Linked DNA regions of Homo sapiens: all the other regions are linked to region 1. The links are contacts of gene promoters, found by promoter capture Hi-C in human tissues and cell types (Jung and others, 2019). All regions are on one chromosome and are shown on one strand. Each heading gives the region's core, a stretch centred on a gene start or on the middle of the fragment in contact. The rest is flanking DNA. Distances are from core to core; before and after follow the strand shown. Region 1 holds the start of LINGO3 (leucine rich repeat and Ig domain containing 3). Region 2 holds the start of SLC39A3 (solute carrier family 39 member 3). Region 3 holds the start of ABHD17A (abhydrolase domain containing 17A, depalmitoylase). Region 4 holds the start of DIRAS1 (DIRAS family GTPase 1). Region 5 holds the start of ATP8B3 (ATPase phospholipid transporting 8B3). Region 6 holds the start of ZNF554 (zinc finger protein 554). Region 7 overlaps SGTA (small glutamine rich tetratricopeptide repeat co-chaperone alpha).

Region 1 (2,700 bases), core at 178-2,677:
GAAGGCTGAGTTGAACCCTCCTAAGCCCCCATCCCACCGCCCGGCTGCCCCCTTCCTGCCACCCCACATCATCGAGATGGGGACAGGAGCTGGGTCTACAGGGGAAGCCCGTGGGTTCTTCCCACTCAGATCCTGTCTCCGACGATGGCTGCTGCTTCGGCTCAGAGAACAGCCAGGGTAAGGCCATGCCGCGGCAGCCCACCCCACACCAGCCTCCTGATAAAGCCAGCACCACCCTCCCTGAACCTGTTTCCAGCCTGCGTCCTCCACCTGACCACTCACACCTCACACCTTCTGCATCCTCTCCAGGCCACTTCCAGGGAGCCCTCCTGGGTTGCTCTGGTTCTCACAGCTCTGTTGTCCCTGAAGGCTCCCCCCAGCCAAGCCCCAGATCGTCCCTCTGCAAATACCACTGCACAGCAGACGCCCGCTCCCCACCCCCGCCGGAGCAAGGGTGTCTGCAGCCTCGCTGCGTCCATGGTTTAGCCAGGGACCGCTTGCTAAAATGCAGCTTCTGGGGCACATCGCCTCAGAAGTTCTGACTCCTCAGAACTGGGGGGGCCGGGACACCGGCACCGTTAGCGCCCCAAGCACACGTTGAGAAACCCAGTTACATGGTGGTCTCCAGCGTAAGGACCCGGGGCTTTTCTTGTGCCCGGACCAAGGCACGAGGTGCTGCTCCCCTAAACTTGTTGAATGGGACTCAGGGCCTCCCCTGGCCAGGCCCCAGAGGCCCGGGAGGTGGCGGCACCCACTCAGGGTGCCCAGGCCCACCATTTCTGGTGCTATTCAGACGCCCCCAGAGCAGGGGGACTCAGCCCTATGCCCCCAGGTCCCTCCCCGCCAGGCCGGGCCGTCAGCTCCAGCGATGGAGCAGGCTCCGGTGTGGACCCCAGATACCCTTTGCGTCTTCCAGCTCCGCACCCCCAGGCTGGACCAGACCCGGCTCGGGGGAGACAGGGCAGGAAGGCGCGGGCTGCAGGCTCTATTCGGACGTTCCCCACACCCCAGACCCAACCAGTGCCCCCTTCATCTCCTCCTGGAGAGGAGCGCATCCTCCCAGCGTCCCCAGTGCCCCGGGGAGATGCCCACCCGATTCCCCGCTCCTTGGCGCCCCAGAGGAGGGGCGGGGGGCCCCAGGGTGGGGAGTTCGCCCCCAAAGTTTCCAGGGGGAGCGTCGGGGGCCTGGCAAGGAGCGATGAGCCCGGGAGGGGTGCGCGGGGCAATTTCCCCCGGCTGAGGATGGGGTCGCGGGTTGGGGGCTTTGGGCGGCAGGGTCGCAGGGTGCAGGTGAGGGGTCCCCAGGTCTGCGGGCGCGCCCCACGCCGGGCCCCGGCACGGCCACTCACCTGGGCGGCTCCGCCGCGGACACGGCGCGGGCTGCGGCGCGGGGGCCGCCCGGAGCCGACACGAGCAGCCGCCGCCGCCGCCGCCGCCGCCGCCGCCGCCTCCCGGGCTCCGCCGTGCGCGCCGCCGCCGCGCGCAACCGCCCGCCGGTCTCCTCGGCGCGCCTGGCGGGGGCGCGCGGGGGCTGCGCTGGGCCGCGTGCGCGGCGGCTGGGGCCGCAGGTGTGAGAGGCCACGTGGGCGCAGGTGCGGGGACACTGGGAGCGCGGGTGCAGAACCCCTCCGTGCGCATCCCGGGCGCTTCGTGTCCGAGGACCTCCTGTCCCCACGGCCTGGGTGAGCCTGCGGAGACGGCCGTGCCGTGCAATAAACGCAGGGGCACCCCAAGTGCAGCAGGTTGTTCCGTGTGGAACCTTCTGGAAGCTACCATCGCCTCCTCTGCCCCCCGTCCCCCACCCCTAGTCCAGGCCGCCACCATCTGCACCTGGACATCTGCCACAGCCCAGCCCAGGCCCATTCCTTATGTGGCCCTCAGAGGAAGCCCCTCAGAGGAAGCTTAGCCACTGGGCTCCAGAACCTGCCGTGATTCCCTATTGCCGTGAGGGTCCCGTCTGCACCCCACCTACCCTGGAATTTCTCTTTCTTTCGTTCTTTCTTTCTTTCTTTCTTTCTTTTTTTTTTTGAGATGGAGTCTTGCTCTGTTGCCCAGGCTGGAGTACAGCGGTGCCATCTTGGCTCACTGCAACCTCCGCCTCCTGGGTTCAAGCGATTCTCCTGCCTCAGCCTCCCAAGTAGCTGGGATTACAGGCACCCGCCACCACGCCCGGCTAATTTTTGTATTTTTATTAGAGACGGATTTTCAGCATGTTGGCCAGGCTGGTCTCAAACCCCTGACCTCGGGTGATCCACCCACCTCGGCCTCCCAAAGTGCTGGGATGACAGGTGTGAGCCACCGCCCGGCTGCCTGCACTGTTTGGTCTGCCGCACCACCTCCTTCCCCCTGGCCTGTCCTCACTCACTCTTTCCCGGGCTCCACCCCCTCAGCCTTCCTCAAACAGGCCAAGTCCCTCCAGTCCCAGGCCTTTGATCTTCGCTGTGCCCAGCTTGGACAGCCTTTCTCTCTGTCCCTCCATCGAGCAGCTTGGAGCCTCTCAGTTTGTCTAATGGGCTTGTTCCCCAATGTGCCTTCCGCCTAGCACACAGCAGCGCACACACCAAGTGCACTGCGAGTGCTCATGGAAAGTTTTTTACCTTTTTTTTTGTCTTTTTTTTTTTTTTTTTTTTTTGAAATGGAGTTTTGCTCTCGTCACCCATTCTGGAGTGCAGTGGTGCAATCTTGGCTCACTGCAACTTC
Region 2 (2,700 bases), core at 187-2,686, 430 kb after region 1:
TCTTTCTTGCTTCTCTGCATCCAGGACCCCTCAAAAGGGCCTCCCTCGGTTGGGAGTGGTGGCTCACACCTGTAATCTCAGCACTTTGGGAGGCTGAGGTGGGCAGATCACCTGAGGTCGAGAGTTCGAGACCAGCACCTGAGGTCGAGAGTTCAAGACCAGCCTGGCCAACACAGTGAAACACTGTCTCTACTAAAAATACAAAAATTAGCTGGGTGTGGTAGTGGGCACCTGTAATCCCAGCTACTTGGGAGGCTGAGGCAGGAGAATCACTTGAACCCAGGAGGTGGAGGTTGCAGTGAGCCAAGATCAAGCCATTGCACTCCAGCCTGGGTGACAGAGTAAGACTCTGTCTCAAAAAAAAAAAAAATTAGCTGGGCATGGTGGTACGTGCCTGTAATCCCAGTTACTCGGGAGGCTGAGGCAGGAGAATTGCTTCAACCCAGGAGGTGGAGCTTGCAGTGAGCCGAGATCGCGCCATTGTACTCCAGCCTGGGCTGCAGAGCAAGACTCCGTCTCAAAAAAAAAAAAAAAAAAAAAAAAAGGGCCTCCCTCTCTGCCCCTGGCTGACTCCTGCCCTAAACCATATCCCTGTACCCGCCGGAAGGCCTGCTGCAGAACAGATACTCAAAAACCGCTGGCTGAACACATGGACGAGGGGAAGCGTGTGGCCACTGATAAGGGCCGCATTTTACCTGATGCAATGGGCCAAAGTGAAGTCGGTTTCACCCTGGACCCCAAAATGTCACCGTTCTTAGGAGGAATCTCAGCTCCTCCCCTGTCCTTGAGTTTTCCCCAACTGGGTTTTCTCCCCCACCATCAGCCCCAAGCGCCTCATGGCCCCGCTACCTCACTGCATTCAGGTCTTCGGGTCACTGCTCAGATGTCTCCACTCAGAGCTCTCCCCGCCCCCTTCCCTGGTGTTATTTTCTTTTATTTTGTGCTACAGAGGGAGCTAGGAATTACATTATTTTAAGTCATTTAAAGTCGTCCCTCCCCCCCGGCGGTGAGCTGGGCGGGACCAGGCTGTCTGTCTTGCTCAGGGCCAGCTGCACCCAGCGCAGAGCCACCCAGGCACACAGTAGGCGCCCAATAAAGACCTGTCCGGCATCTGGATACCTCAGTCTGTACAGTGAAGGTGAGGGTGGCCTGCACGCTCTCAAACCGGAGGCTGCTCGGGCCGGGATGAGGAGGGCACGGGCTCATTCATTCAATCAGCACTTATTGAGCGCCTTCTGTGTGCCTCGCGCTACCGGGCACCGGAGACGGGCCTCGGCTAACGTGCGGGTAGAGTCCAACAGACCCCCGGCCGCTCAGCGCCGCCCCGCCCCGCCGCCCCAGGTCCTCTCTCTGCCCGCACCTACCTCCCGGGGGCCCCTCGTCCGCCGACTGGCGCCGCTGCACGCCCAACGGCCGCGCAGTCTCGACCCCACAGACGCGGCCCGGAGAGGCCCCGCTCGGCGCGGCTGGTCCACGCCCCGCCCACGCCCCTGCCCATTGGCCTCCCCGAGACCCGCTGGCAGAACTTTCCATACTATTGGCTGCGAAACCTGCCACTCATATGCGACTCCACCTCTCCTACCGGCACAGGAAAGGGGTTTCCTCCCGCTGAGCGGCGGGCGCAGCCACCAAGCGGCCCCGGCGGGAAACCCGGATTGGCGAGGAACGGTTCCGGCAGGGTTGGGTTTCCAGAGCTGTCCAGGGGCGCCTGGTGCTGAATCCCGCTTGGAAAGAGGCTTGGAGGTGGATGGGAAGGGATTTCCAACGGAGGCGGCTCCTCTCTCAGCGTCCTCGCTGCTGATCCCCTTACCGACGGCTGAAGAAGCAGATTCATCCCTTCAACAAATCTCTGTTGATAGGCAGGAGGAGTAAGTCCAAGAGATCGACTGTACATCATGGTGGCTACAGCTCGTAACAATGCATTGCATACTGCAAAATTGCTAAGAAAGTAGATGTTACATGTTCAAACCATGAAAAAATAAGTATAGGAGGTAACGCGTAAGTTAAAAACCAAATCTTGGCAGGGCGCAGTGGCTCACACTTGTAATCTCAGCACTTTAAGAGACCGAGGCGGGAGGATCGCTTGAGTCCAGGAGTTCAAGGCCAGCCTGGGCAGCATAGTGAGACCCCATCTCTAAAAAAAAAAAAAAGGTTTTTTTTGAGACAGAGTCTCGCTCTTGTCACTCAGGCTGGAGTGCAATGGCGCGATCTTGGCTCACTGCAACTTCCGACTCCCGTGTTCAAGCGATTCTCCTGCCTCAGCCTCCCGAGTAGCTGGGATTATAGGCGTGTGCCACTATGCCGGCTAATTTTTGTGTTTTTAGTAGAGACGGGGTTTCACCATGTTGGCCAGGCTGGTCTTGAACTCCTGACCTCAGGTGATCCTCTTACCTTGGCCTCCCAAAGTGCTGGGATTACAGGCATGAGCCACTGCGCTTGGCCTGATGACTTGATTCTAACAAATAGAAAATGGCAAATGAATGGGATGTCATTCTGCGATTAGGCTATGAGAGATTGTGACTTCTGTTTTGCCAGCAGAGCCTGTCTCTCGCCTTCTCAGCCTACGTGTCTTGACAAAGCAAGCTAAGATGCTGGAGAGATCCAGAGGGAAAGGAACTGAGGGTGTCCTCCAGCCAACAGTCAGCAAGGCAATGAGACCCTCAGCACAAGCGTCCATAAGGAACCAAATGCTACCAACAG
Region 3 (2,700 bases), core at 196-2,695, 420 kb before region 1:
AACCACCCTTTGCACCTCACTGCCAACGCTCTCAGAGTCCTCAAAGCTGGGACAGGACCCCTTACACGCTCTTTCCACAGCTTGTATTTTTCACACGTTTGGCCAGATCTCCCCCCACCTCCAAACCAGAAACTCTATGAGAGCAGGACCATGACCTGCCACTCACTAAAGGAATGGGCAGGTGGTAGGCAGCACAGAATTAAGGAGGAAGCACAGGAGGAAAAGAATCCCCAAGGTCCGCCAGCTTTGACAGGGAAGGGAAAGTCTAGTCTCCTCTCCTCTCCAGCCACAGGTACCTGGAACCTCCCTAGTGTCACTAATGGGCGTGGACTGGGGAGTGCAAACCCAGACGCCTCACTCACTGGGCACACACCCTTGACACCCTGAATCCCACCAATTCCGTTCCCACGCACTTAACTGGGCAACCCTCTGCAAGCTAGAGGTGTTCTGAGGACCAGCAAGCAACCGAGCAGCCAAAATACTGGAAGATGACCTACATATGGGAGACGGTGACTGCACCTCACTCAACCAGTCAGGGTGGGAAACCCGCCTGGGGGGAGGCGCGGCCATATCAGAGGGCAGACAAACGGGCCAGGTGACAGGGGGATGGGACAGAGGGACAAGCAGGAGCAAAATCCGAGGTGACAGAGCAGGCTCCTGGCTAGAGCAGACCCTGGGAGGAAGAAGTGAGCAGAAGGGTCCTAAGAGAGAGCCTGGGACGGGTGAGGTCGCGCCCCCGAGAGTTTGCACTTCATCCTGGGAGAAATGGCGGGGCCGCGAAGAAGTCCCGAGCAAGCGATGGACAACATAGGAGAAGGGCTGCATCCCGGAGAACGGACGCGAGCGGAGGCCGGGAAGCCCGCCCAGGAGTCAGGGTGGCAGGAAGAAGCCTGACAAGGGAAACAGCGACTGGGAGCTGGTTGGGAAGCAGGGCTCGGGAGGGCCCCTGGGAGCTGCCTTGGGGGGCGAGAGGCCGAAGCGTTTGTCGGACTGGGGGCAGTTTCGGGGCAAAAGAGCGGAATCCGCGGCTCGGACGGGTGCTCCCCGAAGGCAAGGGCCGCGTCCGCAGGAGGGTGGGAGCGCAACCCACGCCGGAGGGCTGAATGGATGGGGACAGGGCTTTCCCAATCACAGACGCTCATCCGCGGTCCGCGCCCCTGCTCTGGGCTCCTCGGGCAGGACCCGCGGAAGCCCTGGGACTGCAGGGGTCTCGGGGACGTCCAACCGGGCTGTCAGGCCCTCGAGGCCCGGCCCGGGACCCCGCGCGGCCGCGCCCGCCCCCGCCCCTGCCCGGCACTCACCACCCCGGCCCGCGCCCCCGGGCCCCAGGGCCGCGCTCCATGGCTCCCGGCCGCCCGCCCGTGCGTCCGTCGGTCCCTCCGCACCCCTGCCCGGCCTCCTGCACCGCCACCGCCGCAGCTCCCCCCACGGACGGAAGTGAGCCTCGTTCTCACCACCGCCCCGGAAGTGACGCGAGGAGCGCGCGGGGCGGGGGTCTGCAGGCACAGAGCGACCGCGCGACTAGCGTCCTGGGGGCGGGGCTGATATGTCGAGGGGCGTGGCCTGCTGCTCTGTGGGCGGGGCCAAACTTAGGTTTCATTCACTTGGGGACCCGGAATAGGTTGAGGCCAGTAAAGTTCTCGCCTGGAAAACAAAATTTACAGGGACGCCAAAAAAAACTCAGACATCAACATTTAGAAATGTTTTAAAATATTTTTCTTTATGAGATGGAGTCGCGCTCTGTCGCCCAGGCTGGAGTACAATGGCGCGATCTCAGCTCACTGCAACTTCTGCCTCCTGGGATCAAGCGATTCTCCTGCCTCAGCCTCCTGAGTAGCTGGGATTACCGGCGCCCACCACCATGCCCAGCTAATTTTTGTGTTTTCAGTAGAGACGGGGTTTCCCCATGTTGGCCAGTGTGGCCTCGAACTCCTGACCCCAGAATCCTCCTGCCTCAGCCTCCCAAAGTGTTGGGATTACAGGCATCAGCCACCGCACCTGGCCTCTTTTTTTTAACATAGAGTCTACTCTGTCACCCAGGCTGGTGCCATCATAGCTCACTGCAGCCTCGACCTCCCAGGATCAAGTGAACCTCCTACTTCAGCCTCCTGAGTAGCTAGGACTATAGGCACAAGCCACCATGACCAGCTTATTTAAAGTCTTTATATATTGCTCATCAGAAATTCTTTTGCATTAGTTTTTAAAATATTACATTAGGCCGGGCACGGTGGCTCATGCCTGTAATCCCAGCACTTTGGGAGACTGAAACAGGTAGATCACCTGAAGTCAGGAGTTTGAGACCAAGCCTGACCAACGTGGTGAAACCCTGTCTCTACTAAAAATACAAATATTAGCCGGGCATGGTGGCACGCGCCTGTAGTCCCAGCTACTCCGGAGGCTGAGGCAGGAGAATCGCTTGAACCCGGGAGGCGAAGGTTGCAGTGAGCCAAGATCGGGCCACTGTGCTCCAGCCCAAGTGACAGAGCAAGAAGACTGTCTCAGATAAATAAATAAATAAATAAATAAATAAATAAATAAATAAATAAAACTATGATCACTCCACTGCATTCCAGCCTGGGCGAGAGAGCAAGATCCTGTCTCTTAAAAAAATTTCATTATGGGCTGGGCGCGGTGGCTCACGCCTATAATCCCAGCACTTTGGGAGGCCGAGTCGGGCAGATCATGAGGTTAGGAGATCAA
Region 4 (2,700 bases), core at 133-2,632, 410 kb after region 1:
AGCGCCAGCTGACACAGTCCCCAGTTGTGATGAGCCAGGCAAACTTCTGGGCGCCTCGGCAATGCCAACTCATGTGATTGGCTGCCGGGTTTGTGGACTACATGCATAGTAATTTCTCGGCATTCGGAGGAGGCTGGGGGTGCTGGTGGTGGGGGGGAGGCGGCCTGTGCTGCAGACCCTGCCCTTTCCTGGGTGGGCGCCCTGAGAGGCGGGCACGCTGCTGTGCAGAAAGACGCCACCAAGACCGGCCTGGGGTCCTAATGGCCATGGGTTCTGTGGACCCAGATCCAGCCTTTGCCTTGCTGCGGGCACTGAAGCTCCAGCCCCCATGAGCAGTACTGTCCTCCCCGCTGGGTCTGGAATCCCTGACCAGAAAGGCGCTTGCACTCAACAGCCCCGAAGCCCACGCCACTTCCCACCTCCACCGCCTGGGGGGTGCGGGTGGAGGGAGGGGGTCGTGGGCACCGAGGCAGGAGCAGGAGGGGCTGGCTCAAGGTCACAGAGCAGGGGGGTGGAGGCGCACAGCGGGGCTGGAAGCCCACCCTGCTTGGCTAGACTCCTGGGGTTTCCCGCCTGTGCGGGGCAGCCCACCCCCAGACGTCCAGGCAGGGCCAATCTACCCCAGCCCTGGGTCCCTGAAGCCCGGCTCCCGGCCGGGCACGGCGTGGTTGGTGGGGGCGGGGGTGTCAAAGCAAAGCTCAGGGTCAGGAAAGCAGAGAGAGCCGCGACCCAGGGGTCTAGCGGGGGTCACGCCTGACCAAGGGTGGGGCGGGGGTCTGACCCAGGGCCGCCTGGCCGGTGAGGGGTTTGATGGAGAAAGGGCCTGCTCTAGGGGGCCCGAGGGCGCAGAGGCACAGTGCGGGGCCAGCCCAGGGGCGACCCTTGACTCAGGAGGACCTCAGTGGTGGAGAGGAGGAGCCCACCCCGGGGAGGGGGCGCGGAGGGAGGGGCTTGGCTGGGCAGCGGGGCGGAGGGCGAAGAAGGCGGCTGCAGGAGGGAGGAGGCCCTGCCCGAGGGGACCAATGCGGAGAGGGGCGGCGGGGTGGGCCTCGGTGGGGCGGGCTCGGCAGGGGGGCGCCCTCCGGGTGGGGGAGGGGAGGCGGCCGGGAGCTGTCCAAGGTGAGCGCGGAGGGGCCGGCCGGGCCCGGCGGGAAGGGACGGGGGACGCCCGGCGAGGGGCCCCGGAGCCACGCGGGGAAGGGCCCGGCCCCAAGGCCCGGGAGGCTGGGGCCGGGACAAAGGAGGGACGCGCGGCGGGGAGGACGGCCGGCTGGGGGCTGCGCAGGGACCCCCTCCCCGCCCCGGGCCGCCTACCTGGGCCCGCTGGTCCCTGCGGCGCCGCGGCCGCTGCTCCTGCCCGCTCCGGTGTCCGCTGGCGCCGCCGCCCCCCGCCCGCCCGAGCCGCCGCAGTCGCGCCCGCGCCGTCCCCGCCCGCCGGGCCCCGCGCTCCGCCCCGCCCCGCCCCGCCCCGCCCCGCCCCGGGGACCCGCGCCCACGGGGCCGGCGCGCCGCCCGGCCAAGGTCACCGCCGCCCCACGCGGGACCCCTGCCCGCGCCCGGGGTGGGAGAGGTCGCCAGGATCCGGGACCCCCGCCCTGCCACGTAGCCACCTGCGCGCGCCCTCCCTCGGGGTGGGAGCTGGGGCCGCTTCCCGGGGAACCCCGAGTGGGGGCCAGGAGCCCGGCTTGGGAGGAGCAGAGTCCAGCCGGGGGTGGAGGGCTTTGGCAGAAATGCGGATAAAGGGGGTGCAGAACGGGACCCCTGAGGCCGGCTGGGGCCCGGTCACACGCAGGGCGGGGAATCAGAGGGGTGCGTTGTGAAATGAGTAAGTCGATAATCAACAATCAATGAACAGGTTTAGAAGCGGGCAGAGGCGGGAGGGTTCAGGTCAATGGGGTGCACCTGGAGGCCCACCCATCCCAGGGGCCTGGGCAGGGGCGGGATGGGGGCAGAAGCGGACTCAGCGCTCTGTAGGGCTGGTTTTGTGGAGGCGGAGGCAGCCCATGGCAGTCAGGCCTAGGGAGGTGGGGGGTGAGCAAAGGGGGCTGGCGCTGCTCTGCAGCGGATGGGTTTGCCGTTTTCGGTTAGGAAAATGTTTGTGTTCCCCCAACAGGAGGTGTCTTAGGGGAGCACTGGCTTTTCTGATGCGTCTGTGTGTCCACAAGAGACCATGGTTCCGCCTCCATTTTGGAGACCGGGAGGCCGAGGTTCCTTTTGGCCTCATCGGGCAGATCCCAGAGGAGACTGGACTTTGGGGTCTAGTGACCAGGCCAGAAGGTGCTCTCAGGGGTGGGTGCGGGACAGTCCCAGGCCGCAAGGCTGTCAGAGGAAGGCGCCCCTTGGTGGAGAGGCCAACTCTGGGACCCACAGGGGTCTCTCCAGAGTCAGAGCCATCAGTGGGTGAGAGGCTGGTCTGGAAGGTGGTGAGCTCCCCATCACCAGGCCTGTGAGCAGGTGAACCCCTTGGGCCCTCAGCTCCTGGGGTTCTCCATGACCCACCATTTCCATGGCCCTGGATGAGGTGGGCCCATCTGCCTCTGCGGAGACTTGGCACTGCCTCCAAGACCACTCAGTCCCCTCTCCTGTTGCCACTGAGGCTGGGGCACTGAGGTTCAAGCGGCTTTGGGGCTCAAGGAGCTCTATTTCTCCCTGATTTGACCCCACTCCCCCTCCTGGCCTCCAGACCCCTTCCTCCAGCCC
Region 5 (2,700 bases), core at 168-2,667, 500 kb before region 1:
TTGGACATCCTGAGACCTAGGGGACCCCAAGATGATCCTCAAACCTGCAACAGCCCATCTGCCAGTGTCCCCCGCCAGCCACCCTGGTCGCCTCCCGCCAGTACAGCCTAGAAGGACTCTACCGCCAGCCATGCCAGCCTCTGGCCATGCCAGCCTCCGGCCACTGCTCCCCACACCTCGCTTTTCCTGAAAGGACCACTCTCACCTCCTCCTGGTTTCACTGACGGCCTCCTGCCCCTCTCCCCATGTGGCACCAGCTTAGGGGCTCAGTCATCTGTTCACTGACTGAATGGGACCCCCGGGCTATATGTTATATCTCAAAACACAGCATGAGGGTCAGGCATGGCCACTCCCCTCCTCACCCCCCCAGGCTGGGCAGCAAACTCTGATGGGGGCGATGGAGGCAGACGGACATCGTCAGAAGATCCTGGAATCTTCTCCACTAGCAGGTTCAGGAATGTGGGTCTGGCTCTAGCCCTGCACCGGGGGCCCTGGTTTGGCCCCCTATGAGGATGGGCAAACCACCCCTAGACGCCAGCAACTGGCCCCCCACCTGCCAGCTCTCTAGCAGTGCCCTCCCCGCCAAGCCCCTGCCCCTGTGTTCCGGCCACCCGATGCACCCGTCCTCACCCTTCTGGTCTCCATTCATACTTCCTAGCCCGGCCAGGCTGGGCCTTGTGCCTCCTCTCAGGTGCCCCTCTGCCTGGGGAGTCTCCCATCCCAGCTCTGATCACCGTCTCACCTCCGCGGATGCCAGCAGGACCTGAGCCTTCCTGAGTCACGTCTGAGTCACCCGTGTCCCCAGGTCCTGGTGGGGCAGGGCTTGGCTCAGGGCCAGCTCTGGTGCTCCTGGGAGTCTGAGCGGGGCCAGTGCCCATTCACCGCATGAGGAAAAGGGAGGTTCAGGGCGAAGAGGGGTTTAGGCTGTGGGACGGGGGAGAGGTGGGGGAGACCCCCGTGGGGGCAGACTGGGGATTGGAGAGTTGGAGAGAATGCTCAAATGGCCAGAATCCACTCGAAGTGTATCTGGGGGCAGAAAGAGACACGGACACAGCGCTGGCTTCCTGCCCCCTCACTAACTGGGATGCCCCATTACTCGGAAGCCCCCCACCCCGTCTTCCCGCAGCCGCAGGGGCACAGGACCGCCCTGGACAGGGCTCCAGAGTCCAGGGCTGTCTGCACCCGCCCCGGGGCCCCGACCGCGCGAACCTCTAGGGGCGCGCTCTCCACCCCCGCCGCCACGACCCCAGCTCTCAGCCTGGGTGGAGCCCAGAGAGGGTGCGCGGGCTCCCGGGGACGCACAGCAGTGGGAGCACCCGCCGCTCACCGGCGCAGGAGAGGCAGGGGGGGGCAGGCCGCGGGCGTCCAGGGCGGCGGACGTGGTGGAACCGTTAGCCCGGTGCCAACGGTCCTGAAACGGGGGGCGGGATCTCGGGGCGGGGCCTCGGGGCCCGGCCAAGGCGAAGGTGGAGCCAGTTCGGACCCCGGAAGGGGGCCGGGGGCGGGGCCTGGAGGGGGTGGGTGGGGCCAAGGCGAAGAAGGGGCGGGGCCTCGAGGGTGGGGCCGAGCGGAGCACGGCCGAGCAGGATGGGGGCCAGGCCTCAGGGACGCGGTCACGGCCGAAGGGCGGGGCCTCGCAGAGCCTCGCAGAACAGGCCGGGATAGAAGACGCTCGGGAGCAGTGCCTGGGTCTGGGGAGGGGCCGGGACTTTGGGGAAGGGACTAGAAGGAAGGCGAGGACGAGCGGGGTCTCGCTGAGCAAAGTCAGAGTAGGGGCGGGGCCAGGACTCAGGGGCTTGGCCAGAGCGGGAAGCGGGGTTGAGCATGGCCTTGCGGAGCAGTGTTATGGTAGGGGCGGGGCTGGGATCCGGAGCCGTTACAAAGGAGGAAGGCGGGGCCGCGCAGAGCAGGGTCAGGGTAGGAGGGCGCTCAGGGTGGGTCCAGGACAGAAGGCAGGGCCTTGGGAGGGCCTTAGGGAGCAGTGCCAGTGCAGGGGCGGAGCCTGAAAGGGAAGAGGGTGTCAGGGCAGGGCCGGGCCGGGCTTGGTCAGGGAGCAGAAAGAACCTGCACCGCAGGGCGGGGTTGGAAGGGTTCTTGGAAAGGTGGGCCTGGGTCAGGTCGGAATGGGCCTTGCAGACCTGACGGGGCTGAGGCTGGTGCGGCCAGCGTGGCAGAGTGCAGGAGGAAGGACCACAGGTAACGGCGGTTATGTAAGTCATGTCTGATCCGTGTCCTGGGTTCGTTCATTCATCCCATACACGTTCAACGAGCGCCTCCTAGGCGCAGATGCAGGGCTGAGCACCAGGCTGGGGAGAGGCGGTTATAGCCATTGAGACCACCCTAAGGCCAAGAGGAAGCCCGCAGGGTTCTTTCCAGCAGGTGGCAGGGGCTCAGGGATCCTTACTGAAGAAGTGGCAGGGGTGAGTTCAGCGACGAGGCTAGGGCGGGTCCAGGCCAGCGATAGGGCCTGGAGCCAGGGTCAGAAAGTGTGTGCGGAGGGGCTGCTGAAGATGAAATGCCCCCAAGAGTGAGGCTACCTGGGGTGAGGGCCCAAAGGGAGAGGCAAACATGGGTGGAGGGGGATAGGGAAGCCACCTCCCCCATCAAAGCGGCAACCACCTGAGGGCTCTCGGTGATCACAAACCCTCTTTCTTTGGAAGCCCAAATTGGAAGCCTGCTTGGCCCTGGAGGCTGCCAGGG
Region 6 (2,700 bases), core at 175-2,674, 510 kb after region 1:
ACTAAGGTCAGAGCAGGTGACAAGGATGACTAAGGTCAGAGCAGGTGACCAAGGATGACTAAGGTCAGAGCAGGTGACCAAGGATGACTAAGGTCAGAGCAGGTGACAAGGATGACTAAGGTCAGAGCAGGTGACCAAGGATGACTAAGGTCAGAGCAGGTGACCAAGGGTGACTAAGGTCAGAGCAGGTGATAGGGGCTAGGAGGGGTTGTTTACTGAAACTAGGGGCAAGGAAACGAAAAGAACGAGGAAGTTAAAGTTTAAAATGAAGAACAAAGAATAGGTGGCCGGGCGCGGTGGCTCACGCCTGTAATCCCAGCACTTTGGGAGGCTGAGGCAGGCGGATCACGAGGTCAGGAGATCGAGACCATCCTGGCTAACACGGTGAAACTCCGTCTCTACTAAAAATACAAAAAAATTAGCCGGGCGTGGTGGCGGGCGCCTGTGGTCCCAGCTGCTTGGGAGGCTGAGGCAGGAGAATGGCGTGAACCTGGGAGGCGGAGCTTGCAGTGAGCCGAGATCGCGCCGCTGCACTCCAGCCTGGGCGACAGAGCGAGACTCCATCTCAAAAAAAAAAAAAAAAAGAACAGGGGAGCTGAATATACGGAAACATTGGTTCTTTGGAGAGGAGCTCATAACTGATTGTACTTAACAATTTACAGGCTAAAACCTTTGAAGAGGAATTTGTTGTATCCTACAACAGTATATTAATTATAGTAGTTTTACTATTTTAATTTCTCATAAATAACAATCAGTAGAATATTAAATAAATATTTAAACAATAATTTAATTTGGCTGGGCGTGGTGGCTCACGCCTGTAATCCCAGCACTTTGGGAGGCCAAGGCGGGCAGATCACTGGAAGTCAGGAGTTCGAGACCAGCCTGGCCAACATGGTGAAACCGCGTCGCTACCAAAAATATAAAAAATTAGCCGAGTGTGGTTGTGCACGCCCGTAATCCCAGCTACTTGGGAGACTGAGGCAGGATAATCGCTTGAACCCGAGGGGGCGGAGGTTTCAGTGACCTGAGATCATGCCATTGCACTCCAGCCTGGGCGACAAGAGCGAAACTCAGTCTCAAAAACAAACAACAATTACTTAAGCAATCATTTTAATAAGTATGTAATACATTATACGTTTATATAACTTGCTTAATAAATAATAGTAGTTATTAATATCCAATGGCAAGCCGCCGGGAAACGACGGAGCTGGGATTTGAGGATTGGCTCCGCGAACCCCACAACACCCGGGGACTCCAGCGAACCACACGGGGTGGATCCAACAGCCGCAGGGGCATCGTGGTCCTGCGGAGACGCCGCCCGCCCGGAGGCGGCGCTGTGACCCAGGTTGGAGAGTCAGGAGCCCAGCGCCGCGCTGCGGGGCCTGCTGGGACTTGTAGTTCGCAGGTTCGGGGTGCGCAGGCGCAGTGCCGAGTTTACCTCTGCGCGCGTCGGGGTTGGTGGCGGCGGCTGCGGCGAGTTCCTGAGGGGCGCCTGCGGGGGGCGTCCGCTCCGAGCGCCGAGGAGCCGAGCGGAGGAGGCGTCCCAGGGACACGCAGGGGAGGCCGGCCGGCCTGCACGGGGCGCTCCCGCCTCGGGGGCCCTGTCTGGCGCCTCAGCGCGCGCCCCGATGGTCACCTGCGCCCACCTGGGCCGGCGCGCGCGGCTCCCGGCAGCTCAGCCGTAAGTGCCGCCGCCTCCCGCGCCGCGACCTCCGTGCCGGGCCTGCCGGGGCTCTGGTGGGGCTGGGTCTGGCGGGGCCGGGTGGCCGGGGCATGACCCTGTCGCGATAGGGTCCCCACGGGAGGGTCGGGAGCCGGCAGCTCGCCCAGGGCCCCAACGCCCAGGATGGCACGGTCTGCCCTTGCCCTGTGAAAACGCCCCTGGGTGAGAGACGCATAAGCTTTCCGAGGCCCAGCCTGCAAGGAGAGGGAGAAGACGCATTGACTCTACCCTAAAGGCAGAGAGGGGCTGCCACGCTCGCACTGCAGTGAGGCCACATCAGAGGGTCTGAGCGAGGGGCGGTCCTGCCCTCCAGGGGACACCGGGCGATGTCTGGGGACGTCTGTGGTTGTCATAACTGGGGGCAGTTCCTGGCATGGAGTAGGTGGAGGCCAGGGATGCAACTCAGCACCCTGCCCAGCCCAGAGAATGACCCAGGCTCCAGTGTCCACAGCGCCCTGAGGGAGAGACCTCACTTATACGTTAGCACCGCTGTCCTGGTGATAAGACAGCAAGGGTCCTTTTTTTTTTTTTTTTGAGACGGAGTCTGGAGTGCAATGGCATGATCTCGGCTCACTGCAACCTCCGCCTCCCGGGTTCAAGCCATTGTCCTGCCTCAGCCTCCCAAGTAGCTGGGATTACAGGCGTATGCCACCACGCCCGGCTAATTTTTGCATTTTTAGTAGAGACGGGGTTTCACCATGTTGGCCAGGCTGGTCTCGAACTCCCACCTCAGGTGATCCACCCGCCTCAGCCTCCCAAAGTGCTGGGATTACAGGCGTGAGCCACCGCGCAGCTGCAAGGGTCTATTCTGTTTATACCCACCACCCATGTTGAGGAATGAGGGAGGCAGCTGACCTTTCTGCTGCTCTAGCAACCCCAACCTCCCTGAACTCTCCCCTACCCAAACAGGTTGGTTTCTTTTTCTTCTTCTTTTTTTTTTCTTGAGACAGTCTCGCCCTATTGCCCAGGCTGGAGTG
Region 7 (2,700 bases), core at 178-2,677, 450 kb after region 1:
CAGGCAGCAGGAGAGGCCCAGAGTGGACAGCCAGGGGCCACAGCGGCTATTTCAACGAACGTCAGAGCCACAGCTGCACCAGAAGCGTTCCACACACTCGGGGCCACGTGTGGCTGGTGGCGCAGAGAACATCGCCATGACCTAGAAGGGTCTACAGTATGGTGGTACTTTGTGTATGAGGTTACGGTGGTAAAAAATCCACCTCAACTATTAAAAAAAGAAAAGGAAAAATAAATAAAAGCTTATTTAAAAAAAAAAGGGAAGACTGGAAGAAAAGGCGGCCAAAATATTAATGTTGGTGGCTCTGGGTGAGAAGATTAAGGTTGGGCTGAATGCACGGCTCACACTTTGGGAGGCCGAGGCGGGAGGATCGCTTGAGCCCAGGAGGTTGAGGCTGCAGTGAGACGTGACTGCACCACTGCCCTCCAGCCGGGGGGACAGAGCAGGACGGTCTCAAAAAAAAAAAAAAAAGATTAAGATTGTTCTTGCTGCTTTTTAACATTTTTGTATTTTAAATTTGTCTACAGTAATTATGGTTTAAAAATGAAAGAGAGTGTATATGAGGAGGGGACAACGACAAAATGAAGAGGCCACATGGGAGCAGAATGGAAACACCTCTGGGGAGGCCCGGAGCCTCCCGCCCCCAGGGAGCCGGCGTCTGCTGGAGACAGACAGGACTGAACTCAGGGGAGCCTCCCACCCCTGGGAAGCCGGTGTCTGCTGGAGACGGACAGGACTGAACTCAGGGGCCCCTGGGGAAGGAAACCAAGCCAGCCACGGGCCCCTGGAACCCATGGGGGACACTGAGTGTATTTTTAAACAACTGTAAGTGCAACACCTGCTCACAGTGAGAAAAGGACAAAAAATCCCTCACAAAATGCAGGCAGAACGCTCGGGCGCAGTCAAAGGCAGGTACCCGGCTTGTCCTTTCCACCACTCGATGACCTCGCCCCCACCCCCGAGGTGGCAGCCCCGACACTGCAGAAACAAAGAGCTTCTGCAGGCGGCCTTAGGCAGGGGGGACCCCAGACACCAGCCCTTCCAGGGAGCTGTGGCTCTCCCCTAATCTCCACCCAGCGCCGATCCACAGATGGGAAAGGAGTGGGGAGCAGGACTTGGTGGCCACCTGGAAAGGGGCCCAATGCCCAGAGATGCCCCCACCTGCCTGGGCGGTTCAGGGTGATCTTCTGAGCTGGATGCACCCAGGACTCGCTGTCCAGTGTCCAGACAGGCTCCACAGCCCCCGGGCGTCACTCCTGCTGGCTGCCCTCACTGCCAGGCACTCACGTGGTGTCACTCCTGCTGGCCACCCCCCAGCCCCCGGCCCCATGCACTCACGCAGCGTCACTCCTGCTGGTCGTCGTTGCTGGCGCTGGGCGTCCGACTCCGGATCTGGCTCCTGAGCTGCTCTATCAACTCTGGGTTCTGCTGCTGCATCTGCTGGGCAAACTGCTGGCCCCTGCGGGGAAGGGCACATGGGGCTCAGCCAGGGCCAGGAGGCTGCCTGCTGCCTCCGTCCATCCCCAGCTGACCCCTCGGGCCCTCCACCCCAAAGACAGGCCTGACCCCTCGCTGGAGGACGCTGGGCCCTTCGGAGCAGGGGACGCAGCACTTTCGCTCTCCTCCTTCCCTTCCGCCTGCGAGCCCTGCCCGCCGCCCACGTCCTCCGTCCTCTTGGAAGCAGTTCCACTCACGCCTGGATGAGGCTGGCCAGGTCGTTCTGCGAGGGGCTGGTGCCGGGAGTTCCCAAGGGGTTGTTGCCACCCGAAATCATGCCGGACATGCTGCAGGAGAGAGCGCGTGACTCGCAGCCGGGACAGCCTGACCGCCACCCCCACTGCAGGCCCTCGCAGTGGCCCGGGAGAGAATCCCTCTCAGCCCTTCACCTTCCCCTGCAGGAGAGGATTCTCTCTCACCACCTGGTGGGCCTCCAGGGCCCAAACCCACCCTGTGACTTTCACCTGCTTTCCCAGAACACCCCTCTTTCTTTGGCCTAAAGAGCGTAGTTCTCAGCCAGGGGGTGATCCTGCCCCCAGAGGACCCCTGCAATGGCAGCGGACATTTGCAACAGCCATGATTGGGTTACGCCAAGACAGGGGCAGGGGGTGCTCCTGGCATGGAGTGGATGGAGGCTAGAGACAGTGCTCAGCACCCTGCAGTGCCCAGGACGGCCCTGCTCCAGAAACTGGTCCAGCTCAAATGGCCACGGTGCTGTGGCTGGGAAACCATGCTTTAAGATTTGACCGTGGGCCAGCCGCGGTGGCTCACACCTGTCATCCCTGCACTTTGGGAGGCTGAGGCGGGTGGATCACCTGAGGTCAGGAGTTCAAGACCAGCCTGGCCAACATGGTGAAACCCCATCTCTACTAAAAATGCAAAAATCAGCCGGGCATGGTGGTGGATGCCTGTAATTCCAGCTACTTGGGAAGACCCACTTGATCCCGGGAGGCAGAGGTTGCAGTGAGCCAAGATTCTGCCACTGCACTCCAGCCTGGGTGACAGAGCAAGATTCTGTCTCAAAAAAAAAAAAAGGAGAAAGAAAAAAAGATTTCACCATGAAAACAGGTGAGCAGCTCCCCAGTGCGCACAGCGCTTACTGGGGAGTGACCCTATGAGCCAGCGAGTGCACTCAGAAGTTTATATCCAAGAGAAACGAAAACAGGATTCACACAGACGATTGCACACCCGTGCTCAAGCAGC

The links. The method cuts DNA at HindIII sites, captures the fragments that hold promoters and counts their contacts. A contact is called where the count stands out against the background at its distance.
Region 2: the fragment with the promoter of SLC39A3 here is called in contact with the fragment with the promoter of LINGO3 in region 1 in 7 of the 25 tissues and cell types used here (IMR-90 fibroblasts, adrenal gland, aorta and 4 more).
Region 3: a contact is called between the fragment with the promoter of ABHD17A here and the fragment with the promoter of LINGO3 in region 1, in 4 of the 25 tissues and cell types used here (aorta, dorsolateral prefrontal cortex, heart left ventricle and 1 more).
Region 4: a contact is called between the fragment with the promoter of DIRAS1 here and the fragment with the promoter of LINGO3 in region 1, in 3 of the 25 tissues and cell types used here (mesenchymal stem cells, spleen and stomach).
Region 5: the fragment with the promoter of ATP8B3 here is called in contact with the fragment with the promoter of LINGO3 in region 1 in 4 of the 25 tissues and cell types used here (heart right ventricle, pancreas, spleen and 1 more).
Region 6: the fragment with the promoter of ZNF554 here is called in contact with the fragment with the promoter of LINGO3 in region 1 in 4 of the 25 tissues and cell types used here (heart left ventricle, lymphoblastoid cells, mesendoderm cells and 1 more).
Region 7: a contact is called between a fragment that was not itself captured here and the fragment with the promoter of LINGO3 in region 1, in 9 of the 25 tissues and cell types used here (bladder, dorsolateral prefrontal cortex, heart left ventricle and 6 more).

The regions. Positions count from the first base shown.
Region 1 is chr19:2,306,727-2,309,426 of GRCh38, forward strand. It overlaps LINGO3 (leucine rich repeat and Ig domain containing 3), which reads right to left and starts at 1,428. Exons shown (of 2, transcript NM_001101391.3): 1 at 1,350-1,428. The HindIII fragment of the contact is 18,961 bases long and covers 1-2,700 here.
Region 2 is chr19:2,738,581-2,741,280 of GRCh38, forward strand. It overlaps SLC39A3 (solute carrier family 39 member 3), which reads right to left and starts at 1,437. Exons shown (of 3, transcript NM_144564.5): 1 at 1,365-1,437. RefSeq lists silencers at 533-800, 1,209-1,608 and enhancers at 919-968, 1,669-1,718. The HindIII fragment of the contact is 11,347 bases long and covers 1-2,700 here.
Region 3 is chr19:1,884,051-1,886,750 of GRCh38, forward strand. ABHD17A (abhydrolase domain containing 17A, depalmitoylase) reads right to left here and starts at 1,446. Exons shown (of 5, transcript NM_001130111.2): 1 at 1,302-1,446. RefSeq lists a silencer at 711-858. The HindIII fragment of the contact is 23,112 bases long and covers 1-2,700 here.
Region 4 is chr19:2,719,990-2,722,689 of GRCh38, forward strand. It overlaps DIRAS1 (DIRAS family GTPase 1), which reads right to left and starts at 1,383. Exons shown (of 2, transcript NM_145173.4): 1 at 1,315-1,383. The HindIII fragment of the contact is 24,571 bases long and covers 1-2,700 here.
Region 5 is chr19:1,810,859-1,813,558 of GRCh38, forward strand. ATP8B3 (ATPase phospholipid transporting 8B3) reads right to left here and starts at 1,418. Exons shown (of 29, transcript NM_138813.4): 1 at 1,328-1,418; 2 at 631-1,026. The coding sequence starts at 878. RefSeq lists enhancers at 926-1,671, 2,052-2,211 and a silencer at 1,132-1,501. The HindIII fragment of the contact is 30,703 bases long and covers 1-2,700 here.
Region 6 is chr19:2,818,444-2,821,143 of GRCh38, forward strand. It overlaps ZNF554 (zinc finger protein 554), which reads left to right and starts at 1,425. Exons shown (of 5, transcript NM_001102651.2): 1 at 1,425-1,681. The coding sequence starts at 1,629. RefSeq lists a silencer at 1,464-1,903 and an enhancer at 1,836-2,529. The HindIII fragment of the contact is 22,652 bases long and covers 1-2,700 here.
Region 7 is chr19:2,755,999-2,758,698 of GRCh38, forward strand. SGTA (small glutamine rich tetratricopeptide repeat co-chaperone alpha) reads right to left here. Exons shown (of 12, transcript NM_003021.4): 10 at 1,695-1,784; 11 at 1,339-1,459. The coding sequence ends at 1,345. Among named protein-coding and RNA genes, the nearest start is that of SLC39A3, 17 kb to the left of the region's middle. The HindIII fragment of the contact is 7,304 bases long and covers 1-2,700 here.